Linked DNA regions of Homo sapiens: region 1 is linked to region 2. Evidence: promoter capture Hi-C in 16 types of primary human blood cells and fetal thymus (Javierre and others, 2016). All regions are on one chromosome and are shown on one strand. The core of a region is centred on a gene start or on the middle of the fragment in contact, and the rest is flanking DNA. Distances in the headings are between cores, read along the strand shown.

Region 1 (4,570 bases), core at 2,071-4,570, 3.1 Mb after region 2:
TTGGACTCCAGCTTTTCCCTGATCAAGACATTAGTATAGATCTTAGAGCCTCTGTTGTCTACATCTGTAGAAAAGGACACTCATCAATGAAACTATTATATCTCCTTTTTTTCCAGTCTTAACAACGGATTGGAGTATCCTAGATTATAGGCTTATGAAAAACAGATCTGTATCACTCAATAAACATATTATTAAAATTATAATCTCTTTATTATTTACATATACTGTACTTCAGATAATTAAAATACACTGCCAAAAAAAACTCTGCCAAGGCCAGGTGTAGTGGCTCATGCCTGTAATTCCAGCACTTTGGGAGGCCAAGACAGGCAGATCGCTTGAGCCTAGAAGTTTGAGACCAGCCTGGACAACATGGCGAGGCCTCTTCTCTACAAAAAAATACTTAAAAATTAGCAGGGTGTGGTGGCATGCTCCTTTAGTCCTAGCTACTCAGGAGGCTGAGGTAGGAGGATCACTTGAGCCTGGCAGTTCCAGGCTGCAGTGAGCCATGATCACACCACTGTACTCCAGTCAGCCTGGGCAACAGAGTGAGGCCCTGTCTCAAAAAAAAAAAAAAAAAAAAAAAATGCTCTGCCAAAAATAAAATCAAGTAACTACTATCTGAACTTCTATTAGGCTGCTTTAGGATTTTAGAATCAGAGAATTCTAAGATCAGAAATAATCTTGGAGGTACAGTAGTCCTCCCTAATCTGCGATTTCACTTTCTGCAGTTTCAATTACCTGAGGTAAAACAAGATATTTTGAAAGATCACATTCATATAACTTTCATTTCAGTGTATTACTGTTATTCATTTTATTATTATGTATGTATAGCAAAAAACATAGCGTATATAAGGGTTGGTACTACCTGTAGTTTCAGGCATCCATTGGGACCCTTGGAACATATCCCTCTAGGATAAAGGAGGACTACTGTAATCTAATTCAGCCCTACTTTTATAAAAGGTTATAAATACAGAAGGAAGTTAACTGACTTGGCCAAGTTCGTTTGGCAGAGCCCGTACTGGAATCTGGCCATGAAATTCTAACTAAGTATACTTTTCACCACATCATGGTTGTAAAAAAAATTTTTGATTGGAAATAATGAAAGTGATTGAAGTTTTTCCTTGAATAAATTATTTGAAATTGTTAGTAGCCTGTTTTTTGTTTTGTTTTTGAGACGTAGTTTCACTCTAGTTGCCCAGGCTGGAGTGCAATAGCGCGATCTCGGCTCACTGCAACCTCCGCCTCCAGGTTCAAGCGATTCCCCTGCTCCAGCCTCCTGAGTAGTTGAGATTACAGATGCCCGCCACTACGTCTGGCTAATTTTTGTATTTTTAGTAAAGACGGGGTTTCACCATGTTGGCCAGGCTGGTCTTGAACTCCTGGACTCAAGTGATCCACCCGCCTCAGCCTCCCAAAGTGCTGGGATTACAGGCATTAGCCACCATGCCCGGCCTAAAGGATTATTTTCAATACATTTTTAAATCCTGCACTTGCTTCTGCCAGCTACCCAGTACTCAAAAGGGTATTTTGTAGAACCCAGCCTTCAAAAGGGTCCTTAGAAAGTGGAAAGTAATTTACATATTATTCTAAGTAATGCAAAATTAGTTTAGTATGTGTTCAGAGATTAATAACATATCCCAAAACAAAAAAGACATCTGAATTGATGTTATTGATATTAGTGCCCATAATTAGTTGTGTCTTGAAAAGTACCTTAATTGTCTTAATTGTGCATTTTATCTCAACTGTTATTCACAGAGCGCAAACCAACTTGGCAAAAAGCATGCTGAAAGAATATATACAAAATACGTGATATGAACAATATGTACCTTGGGAGAGCAAAGAAAGGTAAACACAACATAGACAGATTCGACTCTTAGAACATGGGTCGTCCAGGCACGGTGGCTCACACCTGTAATCTCAGCACTTTGGGAGGCCAAGGCAAGTGGATCACCTGAGGTCAGGAGTTCGAGACCAGCCTGGCCAACATGGTGAAACTTCGTCTCTAATAAAAATACAAAAAATTAGCTGGCTGTGGTGGTGGGTCCCTGTAATCCCAGCTACTCGATGGGCTGAGGTAGGAGAATCCCTTGAACCCGGGAGGCGGAGGCTGCAGTGAGCTGAGATCGGGCCATTGCACTCCAGCCTGGGTGACAGAGTGAGACTCCATCTCAAAAAAAAAAAAAAAAAAAAAAAGATGGGTAAAATTTGGATAGAGAAGAGCATGAGTAAACACACGGAGACAGAAATAAATTTTTGCCTCCTTTAAGTTTCTAAAATTGTCTAGTTAAAAAAAAAATTTGACCCCCTACTACAAAGGTAGATGAGATCATGGAAAGCTTGAAGACCACGATGAGAAATAGAAGTTTCCATGTTCATCCTAATTAGGAGAGTGACATTATTTGAGATTTCATTTCTAATTCTAAATTTCCAGAATTTTAATTTTTGACCCTATTAGCTGAAGAAGATTTGTTGAAATATTTGTTCAACATTTGTTGAACTTATTCAAGTTTCAAAAAACAAAAACATTCCTTAAAGCATCTATCTCATCAATTCTTTAACTTTCCCATAGGGAAAGTCCACAATCTCCCTCAAACAAAATTCACTATCAGAAATATTTGCATTTAACCTCCCCTATTTTTAAACCAAGGTAATATCTTTTAGTGTTCATATTCGTCCACGGATTTAACAGAGCCTTAGTAGCAGGCTTAAATGGTAGCACTAGCTTATTCAATTGCATAAAATGTACATTATTCAATTTAGAAGTTTAGCAGACATAGAATTTCAAGAGGTTCTGTCTCTCAAAAATCATAATGGTTCCCGTTCATTCTCATTCCCTCATATTCTCTCTCTCTCTCTCCTTCTTTCCCTCCCTCTCCCAGCCATTTGATACTGTAAAATAACTGTCATCTAAGACCGTTGCAAACACCAACCACAATAACCATATTTGCTCACTGAGTTGCCACTTAGCAGGTGCAACAAGGAAATACTGTTTCTCATCTCCTAAAACCAAAAGGGTTCATCTCGTACCTAATTTGTCACTTAAGTGAAAAGCATATCACGACTTACACTAACTTTCTCCTAAGTGTCAGAGGTTGCTGGCTTAACCAGACCGGAGAAGAGCAGGATCCCCGGGCCTAGCTTTGCTGAGCGGCACAGGGGAGCATCGCCTGGAATTGGTGGGTGTCCCTCCTCACTAGTGGGCACCCCCTTGCCCATCGACCTGCCCAAACCCGAAGGGACCCCGCCAGGGTCTCGGTTTGGCACCTACCCTCTCCTGCTCCCCGCCAAGAGCCAGCCACCCTCCTCGACCCCGAAGAAAGCTCGGGTGCCCAGCTGCGAGTGGAGCAGAGGGAACCCAGCGCCTCCGGCTCGCGCTGGGAGCCCCCTCCCCGCCGGTGCCCCGCCCACAGCACGGCCCCCACCATCCTCTCTGCTCTGGCAAGGCAGGCGAAGACCGGAGCCTTATCTCCGGACTCCCCCACCCCTAATCTCCCGCCGCGCTGCTCCGCACCTACCGCGCGGCCACCGGCCTTACCTGGCCGGGTCTCGGCGAGCGAGGCTGCGCCTGGTGCTTGCGTCCAGCGCACAAACCTGTCCTCCAGCCCCCGGCCCACCGCTCCGCTCTGCCCCTCCTCCCGCCGCGCGCGCCCGCCTCCTGGCTGCCATGGCGACAGTTCCCACACTCTGCGGCCGCTGATTGGTCCGGTTCGCGATTGCTGACGACGCCGATTGGCGGGAGCAGGGACAAGGCCGCGCCGGGGAGCCTGGAGGCGGGCGGTGAGGAGGGCCGAAGCTGTGGAGCCTGGTGGGAGGCTGAGCCAGGAGGGACGTGGCGCTCTGAGATGCGGGCTCAGGAGGCCGCGCCTCTTCCTTCCCTAGCTTACCCGGAGAATCCTGTGGAGCAGGACTCGGGCGGGTGAGGTGCCGTCCTGAGACCCGGGCAGAGCCCCAGGGATCGCCTCTCCCTTGGCCTCTGGCCTGCGCCTGCAGCGCCCACGCAGGTCGGAGAATGGCTGTCAGGCCTATTCTCGCCCACAGGCCTCGCTCGGCTCTGACACCCCCGTCCTCCGCCTTGGCGGGAATCTTAACGGCATTTGTAACCGCACCCACCCCCGTTGTGCTGGGCCCTCGGTCACTGTGGTTTAACTGTATTTACCCACCTTCTCTCTTGCCCATTCGCAGACAGCTCTTTCCTCTGCATCCTGCCCCAGAGAACAGACATCTATTCCAAACCCCTCATTTTAAAGATGGGGAAACTGAGGCTCAAAGATGCACATGGGTAGCTTGAGCCTTCCAGAAGCTTTTGGAGCCACAGGCTGTTTACGAAGTTTCATCCTGCCGATTAGTTTTTTTCACCTGAAAAATTGGTATCATATCTACCTTAGGGTTATTCACGAAGATTGAATGAGATAACATTGCCAGGAAAACAGTACAGACTAGGCATGGTGACTCACCCTGTAATGCCAGCACTTTGGGAGGCCAAGGCAGGAGGATGGCTTGAGCTCAAAAATTTGAGACCAATCTGGACAACAGTGAGATCCTATCTCTACAAGAATATTTTTTACTTTTT
Region 2 (4,354 bases), core at 185-2,684:
TGTATACCTTATCTATATTCCTAACACATGTGGAGCATTAGTTTTCCACAAATGTTTACCGAGATAGGTTATGTCGACTATTTATGGAGGCTATCACAGCCACGGTACCACTGGTGCTCAATAAATATTTTATGACAACTAGAATATATACAGGCATTCTATCTACCCAATGGGGCTACAGATGAGAACACTAACGCACCACCACTCAGCACCATGCCCAGATACAGGGAACACTGGAAAATGTATTAAAGTAACACCGGCCAATGCCAACCGGGCCTCTTTCATGCCTACTTGCCTAGGACAGGAGCCAAAGCTTCCCAAGACTAACAGGCAGAATTTTAAGTGGCAAGAATGTGAGTTTGGAAATAAGCACACCACAGCTTTGTGACCTTGAGCAAATTATTGATACTACAGTCTTTTTCCTTAAGTGAAAAGTCCTACTTAAGTAAGGTGAACTTCCTTCTTAGACTATGGAAACCGCTCAAATAAAAAAGAAATGTTTCACCTGAGAAGCTCTGTACTGGTCAAAGAATTAGCATGGTAAAGCCGGAAGGCTCCGTAGGGATTATCTAGTTCAGGGTGGCTGCCAAATATGTTACTCGTTAGTAGTAACTCGTTAGTAACTTCACTGTTACTTCCGATCTTGTCCTCATAAAAACAGAATATTCTTAGACCCCATCCCTGACTTGGAAGGATTCAGGTGCAGAGTTCAGTATCATTTTGTTTTCAGCGTCTCAAGTGACAAGATTTGGGAACCACAGATTCAATGCACTACCAGTCAAAAGCTTGCAGTACAACCGGCCTTCCAGTTCACGGTTCCCCCTCTCTACTACCGAGGGTCCTCCTTCTCCACAAGCCCTCACCCCAGACCAGTGGTTCCAGAATTCAAAGACAGGCCACTCTGGCTTGCCTCCCGCCCGAAGGCGTTCCTGGGCACACAGACCCCACGCGCCCGGGCACCCTAGGGCAGAGGCCAGGCGCTGAGGCGGACGAACCTGTTACAGAACAGGCAGGGGGTCTGCTGCTTGCCGTGGGGGAGATCTGCATCGTCCTCATCCTCCCAGGCGGCCTCGTCCCCGCTGTCCGACAGTTCTGGCAGGTCCTCCTCATTCTCCACAGCGCCCCGGCCGCCTAACACACACACACAACAATCAGATCGGCCTCGGACACCGGTGCGGCCCGGGGGCTCGAGGAGCAGGTGACGATGGGCTCTCCTCCGCCCCGTTCGCCCGCGGCCCTCACTCAGCACCTCCTTCATGATCCCTGCGAGCCCCCCACCCTGCCCGGGCCCGTGTCCCGGAGGGTCTTCCACCGGCCCCACAGCGGCGCGGCCTGGGGCTGGACGAGCCGGGTGCTGAGGGGCCAGGGTACCCACCGGTAGCGCCTGACGCTAACGAGCACATGGCTGTGGTGCCCCGAGAGCCCGGCGTGTCTGGGGGCGGGGACCGGGTTGGGCAACGAGCGCGCGCAGCGGCCGCCGACTCCAGGAACGAGCGCGAGCACAAGCGCGAACCCGCGGCGGGACCCGGGCTCCGGAAACTTCGCAGACCGCCGGGAACGCCGAAGCGCGCGCGCTGGCTCGCAATCGCTTCCGGCCTCGAGGCGCCGTGCGGGTCACGTGAGGTGGGGGCGGGGCGAGAGCGGGGGCTCCGCCTCCTCCTGCCGCAGGGTTGGCGCAGTGCGCGCTGAAGAGGCGCGCTGATGACGGTTAATGTTGCAGCCCGGAAGATGACTTTTGTCTCCTCCTTGGGTTGCGGCAGGCGTTAGTGGGAGGTCGCGGCCCGCTGCTGTGAGCCCCAAGGCAGAGAGACGTCGCTGCGGTTTTGGGGTTGGCATCCTGTCCTCTGTGCGCCCCTTTTTCCTGGGATGAGCGGTTAGCGGAGGGGCGATCGGCCCATGACGCCCTCTGGTGGCGGAGGAGGCCAAACGCTGGAGGCTCGGCTGGTTTCTGGGCTCCCAGGTCCTGGAGGGGGTGCAGCTGGCGAGAGGGAACGAACTGCATGGGCCAGGGTGGGTCTACTGCAGGGACAGATAGGTGTCAAACCCCCCAAGACGGATTTTAATCTTTGGTTAAGTGAGAACGTGAACTCTAGAGGCAGCCTGCTGGGTTTGAATCCTACCCACGTCACTTTGTAACTGTGATCTTGGGCAAGTTACTCGACCTCTCTCTGCCTCAGTTTCATCAAATACAAAACAAGGATAATAACTGCACTTGGGCAGGGCACGGTGGCTCACGTCTATAGTACCAGCACTTTGGGAGGCTGAGGCGGGCGGATCACCTGAGGTCAGGAGTTGGAGACCAGCCTGGCCAACATGGTGAAACCCTGTCCCTACTAAAAATACAAAAATTAACCAGGTGTGGTGGCACGCGCCTGCAATCCCAGCTACTTGGGAGGCTGAGGCAGGAGAATTGCTTGAGCCCGGGAGGCGGAGCTTGTGGTGAGCCGAGATTGTGCCACCGTACTCCAGCCTGGGCAACAGAGCAAGACTCCATCTTAAAAAAAAAAAAACAAAAAACAAAAAACCTGGACTAACTTCAGAACTACAGTAAGGATAAAACGAGTTAATACATGTAAAGTGCTCAGACATAACTATTTAAGCCAGGGAGTGATGCTCTCAGATGTGTTGAGAAAGTAACAATCTGGCTGCTGTGTGGGGAAGAACACAAATGTTCCCCTGCCTGCCTCATGCCACGTCCCTTTCTTCCTTTCCTTATATCTCTTCAAACCATAGAACTTTTTTTTGTTTGATTTTTGAGACGGAGTTTCGCTCTTGTTGCCCAGGCTGGAGTGCAATGGCACGATCTCAGGCTCACCGCAACCTCCACCTTCCGGGTTCAAGCGATTCTCTTGCCTCAGCCTCCCGAGTAGTTGGGATTACAGGCATGCGCCACCACGTCCGGCTGATTTTGGATTTTTAGTAGAGACAGGGTTTCTCCATGTTGGTCAGGCTGGTCTGGAACTCCCGACCTCAGGTGATCCACCTGCCCGCGAGCCACCGCCCGGCCCAGAATTCTTGCTTAGGAGGGAGTGCCCCAGGCTCTAGCAGAGTTTATCTAATTGGCCTATCAGGCCCTGCATAATCCTGCCTCTTTCCAATGGAACCCTTCACCTTGGGTCCCACCCTTAAGCCTTTTATTTACTGCTAATCATTGAATGTTCTACACATGGGTAGGTCCCTTTGGTCTCAACCAGAAACACTTTCCTCAGGCCATTTCTAAAATAGTTTCCACCATTATTTCAGGAGTATCCTGTTAGTTTCTTAGCACCCACCATTTGCTTACTTGATTTTTTTTTCTTTTTTGGTGATACCCCACAGCACTGAACAATAAGGGTAAGTAAGGGCCATGTCTCTTTACTTTCATTTCTCTGGCACATAATATGTGGCCTGGCCCATAGTATTAATAGATACTGAATGTATTCACTGAATAAAAATGATGCCTTATATTATTGCTAAATGTACTTCTAAATGTACTTTTCTCCCTTAATTGTAAATTCCTAGAGGACAGAATCCATTAAATATTAGTTTTTGTTTTTGTTTTTCTTTGAGACAGAGTCTCGCTCGGTTGCCCAGGCTGGAGTGCAGTGGTGCGATCTTGTCCCACTGCAACCTCCACCTCCCAGGTTCAAGCGATTCTCCTGCCTCAGCCTCCCAAGTAGCTGGGATTATAGGTGCTCACCACCATGCCTGGCTAATTTTTATATTTTTAGTAGTGACAGGGTTTCACCATGTTGGTCAGACTGGTCTTGAACTCCTGACCTCAAGTGATCTGCCCACCTCGGCTTCCCAAAGTCCTGAGATTACAGGCGTGATTGACCGCACCCGGCCCAAATATTAATTTTGAAGCTTTCTTACATCCTAGGACATTGCCAGAATAGCTGCTGGCTCTCTTGAGTTGGAGTCATCGTTCATGGATGCATCCCCAGTGCCTGTGTGCTCAGTGGCACATGAAAGGCACTGAATAAGCATTTGCTGAATGAATTAATGAACACTTGATTACCTGGGCCCATCCAACTTTTCCCTTCATCCTTCCAACATAAACTTTTTCTGTCTGTGTAACATTTGGTGGAAAACTTCCTGAATCCCTTAGTACTAAATGGAACACCCAGTCCATTCAGTGTTGACAATAAAACAAGTTAACACCCATTGTGGAGGAGTGATTGGGCCAGAGTCTTGTTCCTTAGTAAGTTCATATCTCACCACAATGCAGAGCTCAAGAGAGGGCTGCTTTTCTCTCTACTCCAAAGGTGAACACAGACCCTTCCTCATTATCCCACATCACTACTGAGACCAGAATAACATGTTGAATGAAACCTGCTCGAAGGTTTGTGAGTAAGGAAATAATATAAGGAGA

What was found. The method cuts DNA at HindIII sites, captures the fragments that hold promoters and counts their contacts. A CHiCAGO score of 5 or more calls a contact.
Region 1: a contact is called between a fragment that was not itself captured here and the fragment with the promoter of PRMT3 in region 2, in 1 of 17 cell types (activated CD4 T cells). The highest score is 5.3, in activated CD4 T cells.

What each region holds. Positions count from the first base shown.
Region 1 is chr11:17,275,794-17,280,363 of GRCh38, reverse strand. NUCB2 (nucleobindin 2) reads right to left here and starts at 3,625. Exons shown (of 14, transcript NM_005013.4): 1 at 3,536-3,625. RefSeq lists a silencer at 3,362-3,791 and an enhancer at 3,982-4,071. The HindIII fragment of the contact is 1,964 bases long and covers 2,339-4,302 here.
Region 2 is chr11:20,384,796-20,389,149 of GRCh38, reverse strand. PRMT3 (protein arginine methyltransferase 3) reads right to left here and starts at 1,434. Exons shown (of 16, transcript NM_005788.4): 1 at 1,376-1,434; 2 at 996-1,131. The coding sequence starts at 1,403. RefSeq lists enhancers at 564-613, 469-1,075, 1,076-1,683, 1,557-1,726, 3,606-4,107 and silencers at 1,164-1,723, 4,040-4,240. The HindIII fragment of the contact is 3,061 bases long and covers 788-3,848 here.